Regions from separate parts of the Homo sapiens genome. Here regions 1 and 2 are each linked to region 3. The links are contacts of gene promoters, found by promoter capture Hi-C in human tissues and cell types (Jung and others, 2019). All regions are on one chromosome and are shown on one strand. Each heading gives the region's core, a stretch centred on a gene start or on the middle of the fragment in contact. The rest is flanking DNA. Distances are from core to core; before and after follow the strand shown.

What was found. The method cuts DNA at HindIII sites, captures the fragments that hold promoters and counts their contacts. A contact is called where the count stands out against the background at its distance.
Region 1: a contact is called between a fragment that was not itself captured here and the fragment with the promoter of RPL10L in region 3, in 3 of the 25 tissues and cell types used here (adrenal gland, dorsolateral prefrontal cortex and spleen).
Region 2: a contact is called between a fragment that was not itself captured here and the fragment with the promoter of RPL10L in region 3, in 2 of the 25 tissues and cell types used here (dorsolateral prefrontal cortex and mesenchymal stem cells).

Annotation. Positions count from the first base shown.
Region 1 is chr14:46,690,754-46,693,763 of GRCh38, reverse strand. No RefSeq gene overlaps it. Among named protein-coding and RNA genes, the nearest start is that of RPL10L, 40 kb to the right of the region's middle. The HindIII fragment of the contact is 3,642 bases long and covers 1-3,010 here.
Region 2 is chr14:46,591,531-46,594,598 of GRCh38, reverse strand. No RefSeq gene overlaps it. Among named protein-coding and RNA genes, the nearest start is that of RPL10L, 59 kb to the left of the region's middle. The HindIII fragment of the contact is 5,172 bases long and covers 1-3,068 here.
Region 3 is chr14:46,650,399-46,653,604 of GRCh38, reverse strand. RPL10L (ribosomal protein L10 like) reads left to right here and starts at 1,824. Exons shown (of 1, transcript NM_080746.3): 1 at 1,824-2,595. The coding sequence starts at 1,869. The coding sequence ends at 2,513. The region is part of intron 3 of LOC105370481 (a long non-coding RNA gene); the gene reads left to right. The HindIII fragment of the contact is 6,030 bases long and covers 1-3,206 here.

The DNA of each region.
Region 1 (3,010 bases), core at 507-3,006, 40 kb before region 3:
GATAAGATTAACTTTCTCCTTAAATAAAAACAATTAGAAAGCTTGTTTTAACCAGGTTGAATCATGTCACTCAAAAAGACATGCTAAAGTCCAACCTCTTACAATGTGAATTTGCTTGGAAAAAATGTTATTTCAAATTTAGTTAATTAATTAAATAAAGTCACACTGGAGTAGGGTGGGCCCTGAATCCAATATGACTGGTGTCCTTATAAGAAGAAAAGAAAGATACAGAGAAGAGAATGCCATGTGAAGACACAGAGACCCACAGGAAGAACACCATGTGACCACAGAGGTAGAGATTGGAATGATGCAGTTGAGAGACAAGGAACAATCCGCAACCATCACCAAAATTTAAAAAGAGGCAAGAAATAATGATCTCTCACAGTTTTCAGAGAGAGCATTGACCCACCAAAGCCTTGACTTCAGACTTCTAGCCTCCAGAATTGTGAGGCAATATATTTGTAGGTTCAAGCCACCCATTTTGTGGTACTTTTTTATAGCAGCCGTAGGAAACTAATAGAATCTTGCCTGCCAACTATGCATCATCTTCCTCATGAATCCACAATTTATTTGATGTTTGCAGAACCAAGGAAACTGTGCAGAATATGTGAGATATACATGTTTAATCACTTCTCCAATCTTTCCAACCAGATAAACATTTCATCCATGGTAAAGAGCATGGGAAGGACAAAGAAGGAAGGGAAGAAACCACCTTTTCATCTCCCAGGAAGTTGAAAGTTTCTCTTTTATGGTCTGGGCTAGTAACATAGAGAATGGAAATAGTTTCCCTTTGGTCTTATAATTCTCCAGGATTTGGCAGTTTTACGTAAGGTAATAAGAATTTGAGGAGTGTGTGTGTGTGTGTGTGTGTGTGTGTTGTTCTGGCAGAAGTTTTGTCTTAGAAGTACCCAATCAAATTTTCATGTTGAAAAGATTATTTGCCAACAGTCAACAGAATGAATTAGAGAGGGCCCAAAAGGAATTTGGCGAACTCTCATAGCTTTAAAAGAGAGATTGTAGCAACCTGTCCTAAGGTGATTTTATTGGAAATAAAAAATAGTTTAAGAGAAACTTAAATGTAAAACTCTCAGCATTCTGATGAGCGAAGTGGGGTGGATATGTGGAAGCTGGCAAATTAGTGAGTGAGAAGATTATAGCAAAGGAAAGTAAGCGTGGTAAAAATGTTTTAAAAGTAGAAAAAACAAGAATAGAAAGCAAAAGGTTAGATTGATCCATGAATTTTGCTAGATATGGGCCACATGGGCCTTTGATGTTTTTAGAAAATGACACAAAGAAGTAAATATGTAATTTCTTACAGTACTTAGAGGATAAAAGTGAATCATTCTTTTTAACAGAAGCATAAGAATTCCTGATACCAGGAACCAAAAGACATTTTCTATGTAGTTCTCTATAAAAATAATACGGTATAATCAGTGAATATCATCCCCACCAAAACCTTAGCAACAATTCCATCAATGAGAAGCTGAAGACTAGTTAAATTCAAGGTAAAATTTTACAAGTATGTCAAATATGAATTTTTTGTAATATTTGGCAAGCCTTCATAAGCACTATTCTCTCAATGAAGTATTAAGTTGTGTAGATTGGAGGTGATAGCCCTGTGAAAGAATGGAATATTCTCACCTGTGTTACTAAGTGATTCGTCATACAGCTGAGGTGGATATAACACTGGCATTTGCTTATGAGAGTTGTTGAGACGTTTAATAAGAACATGTGCTGATATACGTAACAAGAACAGTGTCTGGATAGAAACCTGTCCTACCACTGCCCAACAGGTTTCTAAGATAACATCCTTGGCAGGGTAAGAGAGTCTTTAAAAACAGAAAGGAAGGTGATTCTTTAGGACATAGATAAATAGAAAATGGAAGTCTGGAGGTTCTGTTTGATGATTGTAGTCTGAAGATCAATCAATCAATCATCCAGTGTACCTTTATGTAAAAGCAAAAAATGTAATTATCAGGGAAAGTAGCTAATAATGTGACCACAACTTCCTTGAAAAAGTAAACACATCAATGGGACCAACATTTTTGTTAGCTTGAATTCTTAACTAAAGCTGTATGAATAAGTATTATCAGATAATAAAACAATCTGGTTTCCTGGTAAGAAAAATGAAACTCTGCACAATTTGTTCTACATACCAGATGACTTTATTTCATATAGTAACACTCCTATTTGTTAAAGAGGGTTAGTTTATTTTATTTTTGCTATTTTAATGCTCATTATAGGTAGACAAATACGTTTATAAAAATACCTGTATAAGAAAATTGGATTGTCAAATAGGTTTCTTCCAGTTGTAACTGAAGACCCTAGTAAAAGTGGCTTAAAGAATAAGCCTTGTTTTCTTATATAACAGGAAAGGTCTTTCAGGATGAATACTTCAGGAATTAGTGATGTCCTAGTCCATCTTTCTGTCTTGCCATACTTAGCATGACAGTCATGCTAAGTATTACTACATTTACATATGAGGACTCCACAATTTCAGTCATCACATGTAAATGCAACATCATCCAATGGGGAACTGGGCATTTTTTTTTCTTATCTGTCTATATGATCTAGTGAGGAAAACCTTTCTAAGAAGGAAGCTTTCCATCAGATTTCGTTGGCAAAGAATGTGACAAATATTCATACATAAACCAACCAATGGCTAGAGTAATAAGATTTTTATGATTATCTTAGAACATTCATCATTCACTCTAGGGCCTAGAGGTAGGTGAGAATTATAACCACATCTGAGACTGATTGTATGGCAGAAGACTACTCAAACAAAATTACTCTGTGTTTCTAGCAAGGAAGAATAATGGCAGAGGGTGTCTATTGACTGGGCAACCAGAGTAGCTGCCACAATGGGTAAAGCCATTCATTTTAACAAGTGAGATAGAATGACATATTGAGATTTCATACTTGTTTGATTTTATTTTGTTCCTACTGGAGGGAAAAAAATATTCATCTATTCTTGCCAGCTTGGGGAAATAGAGAAGAAAGTGAATCAAAG
Region 2 (3,068 bases), core at 508-3,007, 59 kb after region 3:
GCAATGGCGTGATCTCTGCTCACTGCAACCTCCGCCTCTGTGGTTCAAGCAATTCTCCTGCCTCAGCCTCCTGAGTAGCTGGGACTCTAGGTGTGCGCCACCACGCACAGCTAATTTTTGTATTTTTAGTAGAGACGGGTTTTCACCATGTTGGTCAGGCTGGTCTCCAACTCCTGAACTCGTGATCCGCCCACCTCGGCCTCCCAAAGTGCTGAGATTACAGGTGTGAGCCACTGTGCCCTGCAAAAATAACTTTTAAGATAAAGCAACATATAGTAAAACTCACATATTTTATTAGCTATAGCTTTATATTGAATCAATGAAAATGATAAATAATTGTTCCATTATGAGTGGTGTTTCACTATAGATATAAGTTTACTGTAATAAATATTATAAGGTAGGTCCCTTCTTAAATATACCCAAATGAGATTATTTGGTGGTTGATGTGGTAAAACAAAACATAATAAAATTTATAATGCAGTTTTACAGATTGGACCTGAAAATTGCATAATGTTGAAGTTTCAAGGTTTGGAGAAACAGGGGACTTAATAATTCAATGAGAATTTTTTTTTCATGGATAATCGGTTTGTGTAGTTGGATAAGTAAATTATTTCAAGGTAATGACCATTTTTTCTAGTTTGCCAAACAGAAGTTATATGATATATAGTTTTAATACTAGATTCAGATAATTTTATTTTACTTTAATGTTCCTTTTTTGGGGCACTTATTTATACCCAAGTGATTTTTGACAAATTAAATAATAGCTGACTACTAGATGATATTGAGTCTTTGGCATTAGACTGCCAGTGTTGGTGGCCTGGTCCCTACTTATAGTTTTCCTTGGACAACTTAGTCTCAACTGTATCCAATTTATAGGAATGTGTGTGTATTTAAGGAGTTAGCATATGTTAAACAGCACCTTGAATATAATAAGTGGACAATAAATATTGTACAAATATTTGTACAAATGATTATGATTAATGATAACGGTATTGAAGACCATTTAAATTCCTCTATATAAAACTGGGCTTTGGGACTTTTATTCGCTAGGATGTTAGTGAAGATGCACTGTTTTCTACATCTTATTTTTTTCCTCTGCCTTGATTTCCTTGCTTAATATGCAACATGATATCTGGTAGTAACTTACTTAGAAAAGACATGTGTGTAGTAAATCTTATTGAGACTTGGTATGGCTAAAATGAGTTTAATCTCTTTTCTCACTTTAGTGATTGTTTGCTGGTTTAAAATTCCTCTATTTATTTATATTTCTTCTGATGTGTTCAGACCCCTGTACCAGGCTACCACTCTGTCCCATGAGATTGTTAATTCAGGTTCCAATTTATGTCCCAGGTCTTTATTTTCAACTTTTCTGGGAAATTGTCTAGAATAAAGTTGGCCCACGTCCAGACTTGACCCGTCATTGTTCAGAACCTATATTAGAGAAAGGAACACATGGAAGTATATATAATGAACCTGTCTTCTTGCTACCAGCCCACAATTGACTCACCACAAAAATTAGGGTTTAAATGGGGTGTCTGTATCTTTGCCACAGTGTGCACACATCCCAGATATTGTACCTGGGAGTTTCTGGTGAATACTTTTTCTTTCCTATTTCTTGGAATACTAAAATGCATTCACAAAAGGGAAGCTTTGTGTTGACTTACAATCTACTATTTTTTGGGGTCAAATAATGTTATTTCTGTAGAATTTACAGACTGAAGGTTGGACTTGTTTTAAGGATAGCATAATTAAGGCAATCCTCTCTATTTCTGCTTAGGATACTCATTTATAAAATCACTTCTTATTTTTAAAGAGAATATAGGCTGTTCTAGATGTACTGGTGGATAAAATGAAATGCTGATATAGGTGAAGAGCTATTTACTTGAAAAGTGCTTCAGTCTTCTGCTTAGGGAGGGAATATTTCCATTGGTATTGTGTATTCCATATAGACCATTCTCTAATGTTGTCCCCAGTATGGGCAGAATCCAGGGATGGTGGAGCTAGTTTTTCTAAAAAGGAATGTAAAAAGGAGGGTCAGTTCTTCTGTCTTTCAAAGATGTCTTAGACATCCATTGATCAATTGCTATTGCAAAGTCTGCAAGACAAACCACAGAAATATTTGAGGGGTGTCCATATGCTTTTTGTAAGGGTATTAACAGTTCAGGAACCTTTAAGACTTCTGTTCAAATTTCCTGGACAGGAAGAAAAGTGATTGGTTAAATATAATTGCAGCTCAGGATATGTGCAATAGTACCACTGAGAGAAAAGGTTGGAATGATTATTTGGGAACATGTTTTAGGAGTCCCTTGGCAGAGAGGTTTAAACCAAAACTAGAAATTAGTAAGGAGTTATTAAAGACCTTTGAGCATAAGAGTTGTGAAGTGAAAATGAGATTAACCTGTCATATATCTAGGATGAAATGTAGCACGGAGATTAAAGGAGAATGGAAATTAGTTCAAAATAATTGCTGCAGTCTCTAAATAAGAGTTGACAGTTAAAGTAAACATGAAGGTATATGTGGAAAAACACTGTAAAGAAAGAATCCTTAAGACTTAGCAAATAATTAGCTATATGGAATGTGGACTTAGAACTAAACAAGAAATTTCTAAGAATTTCAACCTAGATGACAAAGAAAATGGTGAGGACAGAGTAGAGAAAATTCAGGTATAAAATATAATGTTCAGAAAAAGTGACATTTCAGTATCACTTTCTGTTTTTGTTTTTTGAGACAGAGTCTCATTCTGTCACCCCGGCTGAAGTGCAGTGGCATGATCTTGGCTTACTACAACCTCCACCTTCTGGGTTCAAGGAGAGTAGCTGGGACTACAGGCCTGCGCCGCCACACCCGAATAATTTTTGTATTTTTACTAGAGACAGGGTTTTGCCATGTTGGCCAGGCTGGTCTTGAACTCTTGACTTCAAGTGATCTGCCTGCCACGACCTCCCAAAGTGCTGGGATTACAGGCTGAGCCACCGCGCCTAGCCTGAAGTTTCACTTTCACTTTTGAAATGAAATTGTCATTTCACTTAGGATGCATTGCAATTAATATGTTAACACTAAAAAGCTT
Region 3 (3,206 bases), core at 575-3,074:
CTCACACATACACACACTCTGGGCTCATGTTATGTGACTCATTTTCTCACTCACAGTCACATTGGCCTGACTTTAAGTTCCTTAAAATGTTCCATATTTCTGCCTGCTTCAGGCCTTTTATACATCAGACCCCATGTGCCATGGTCACTACATGAAATTTCTTTTCTGATAAAGATTTTCCTGTCTATTCCTCAGTCTGGATCAAGGTCTCATCCCCAGCCTCATCCCACAGTCTCAGGGCTTACTTTGCTTTTCCTTTTTGGCACATTTTACACTTGGTAATATGATGATATATGAGAAGTATCTATATCCTCTCCTAGGCTTGTAAGCTTGGTGAGAGCAACATGGTATTAGCTACTTTATCTCAATATGTTAAACAGGAACTAGTTGAGAAAAAGGGGAAAGAAGAAATGAAGGAAGAAAAGGGAAGTGAGAAAGCTTTCTTAAAGGTCAGAAAGTTTTCTACATTGGGAGATTTAATTGTTTTATCTTTAGTATTTTGTAAAAATCCACTCACTTTAAGGGCAGGAGTTATTTTTCTCCCTTAAAACAAAGAGTATTGACAGAATATATTCACATTGGGGGGATTTTGTTCCATGATGTAATGGATTTGTGAAACAACATTAAAACAAAAAAGAAAACTAGAAAAATGCAAGTAGGGTTTGTAAACTATTAATTTCTTTTCCTCTCTCTTCTTCCTCCTTTCCTACACTCTGATCCCTGTCATAATATTTTTACAAACTCTGAGAAGAAAAAAAGTTTAAATTTATTCTCAGGGGCAAAAGATTACTAAAACACAAACTGTTACTCTTTTATATAGTTTCAGCAGCTTTAACATTTGAAAATGCAAATAGCCTTAAGTTAAAAAAAATCTAGTTGGTGTTTCAATTTTGTATATATCATTTTGATAATAAAATCATTTCTTTAGGCCAAATAAAGAAAAAACAAAGTTTCATGTTTATAAAACAATTGCCAAGCTACAGATACAACAGATATCTTCTCTTTATCCCTCTCTCTTCTCTTCCTCTCATCTCTTCCTGAGTCTCATCAAAGCACTCATGCCAAGAAACCACTTTATCCAGGGAAGGTGGCCACATAACCCAAGAAACAGCAATTGATCTACAAATGCTGACAGTGAGATACAAGCTCTGGAAAATGAACTGACCAAACTGGAAACAGCATGTTGAATAACTGGAAGGATTTTTCCTCTCAAATTCTAGGATTTCTTTTTTTCTTTTTCTTTAGACAGGGTCTCCCTCTGTCACTCAAGCTGGAGTGCAGTGGTGCTATCTCAGCTCACTGCAGTTTCTGCCTGCAGGGCCCAGGCGATCCTCCCACCTCAGCCTCCTGAGTAGCTGGGACTACAAGCATGTGCCACCATGCCCAGCTATTTGATATATATATATTTTTTTTTTTGTAGAGACAGCATTTCACTATATTGCCCAGGCTGGCCTCGAACTCCTGAGCTCAAGAGATTCTCCTGCCTGGAAATAACCTCTTTTATACTTAAAGCAAAGCTGAAAGCAAGAGTTCCTAGCCCAAGATGGCTAGCAGAAAGGAAGCAGCAGCTGTGCAGTTGGGGCGGGGCCCAATTCCTTCCCTGGCCGCCAGGGGGAGTCTACCCACAGCTGACTCTGCTCACCTTAAGCGCGCCACTTGGCGCAGGCGCTGAGGCGCCAGACGTCCCTGCGTCTCTGGTTGGGACGTCCTGAAAGAGAGTCGTCACATCCTCCTCAGGACTCTATGGTTCCGGCCTCAGGACTCTATGGTTCCCGCGAGGGACGAGGGGCAACGTATATAAATGCGCGCAGGCGTAGTTAAGAGAGCGCATTTTGACTTCGAGGCACCGCCGACGTTACTGTGTCGCCATGGGGCGCCGTCCAGCTCGCTGTTACCGGTATTGTAAGAACAAGCCGTACCCAAAATCTCGTTTCTGCCGAGGGGTTCCTGATGCCAAGATCCGCATCTTTGACCTGGGTAGAAAGAAGGCAAAAGTGGATGAGTTCCCACTCGGTGGCCACATGGTGTCTGATGAATATGAGCAGCTGTCTTCTGAAGCCCTGGAGGCCGCCCGTATTTGTGCCAACAAATACATGGTGAAAAGTTGTGGCAGAGATGGCTTTCACATGCGAGTGCGGCTCCATCCCTTCCATGTCATCCGCATCAACAAGATGTTGTCCTGTGCTGGGGCTGACAGGCTCCAGACAGGTATGCGAGGTGCCTTTGGAAAACCCCAGGGTACTGTAGCCCGGGTCCACATTGGTCAAGTCATCATGTCCATCCGCACCAAGCTTCAGAACGAGGAGCATGTGATTGAAGCCTTGCGCAGGGCCAAGTTCAAGTTCCCTGGACGCCAGAAGATTCATATCTCCAAGAAGTGGGGCTTCACGAAGTTTAATGCTGACGAATTTGAAGACATGGTGGCCAAGAAGTGCCTCATCCCTGATGGTTGTGGAGTCAAGTACGTTCCCAGTCATGGCCCCTTGGACAAGTGGCGGGTTCTGCACTCATGAAGGTTTTGGCAGTACTGTCTCCTTGGGCCATGCTGGTCTGACTTATGCTTACTAATAAATTCTGTTTACTGGCAAAAAATAACTCCTTATTAAGTTTTAATATTTTTTAAATATCCAATGTTTTAGAATATAGACTACTAGAGAATTTTTTTCTATTTATTCAGTTTTAATGGCAAATGTTACCTTCCTTGCTTCAGTAAAACTATACAATTTATAGAGAAAGCTGTTTTAAGCAAACACTTTAAATTTAGGAGAGTATAGAGCAATATGTTGAAAGTTTTGTTTGTAGTAAAGTCATAAGTTATGCAGCTATCATTCCTTGAATAAAAAATAGATTTGAGTGAAAAAATTTGTTTATAGAATATAAACTAAACAGTAGCGATGAAAATAATAGTAGGCATTAGTGATATTTCACCCACAGCCTCTTTGGAAGTAATTTATTTCTAAACTTGGTTGCCTTATGTTTTTCTATAAATTTCTGTACATTGTTTTTAGAATTACCTTACACGTCTGATTATCAGCCTTAGGACAATTGAGTATCACTCTGAAAGGCTTTTCCAGACGAACTTTACATTGTCTCACAGTCAAGAGATAACAGTCTAATCTTTTTTTCATCATAGAAAGGTCATAGGTGACAACAGAGTTCATATTACTTGTATCTGGGCTCCAGTAGAACCAAAAGAAGAGAGAAAA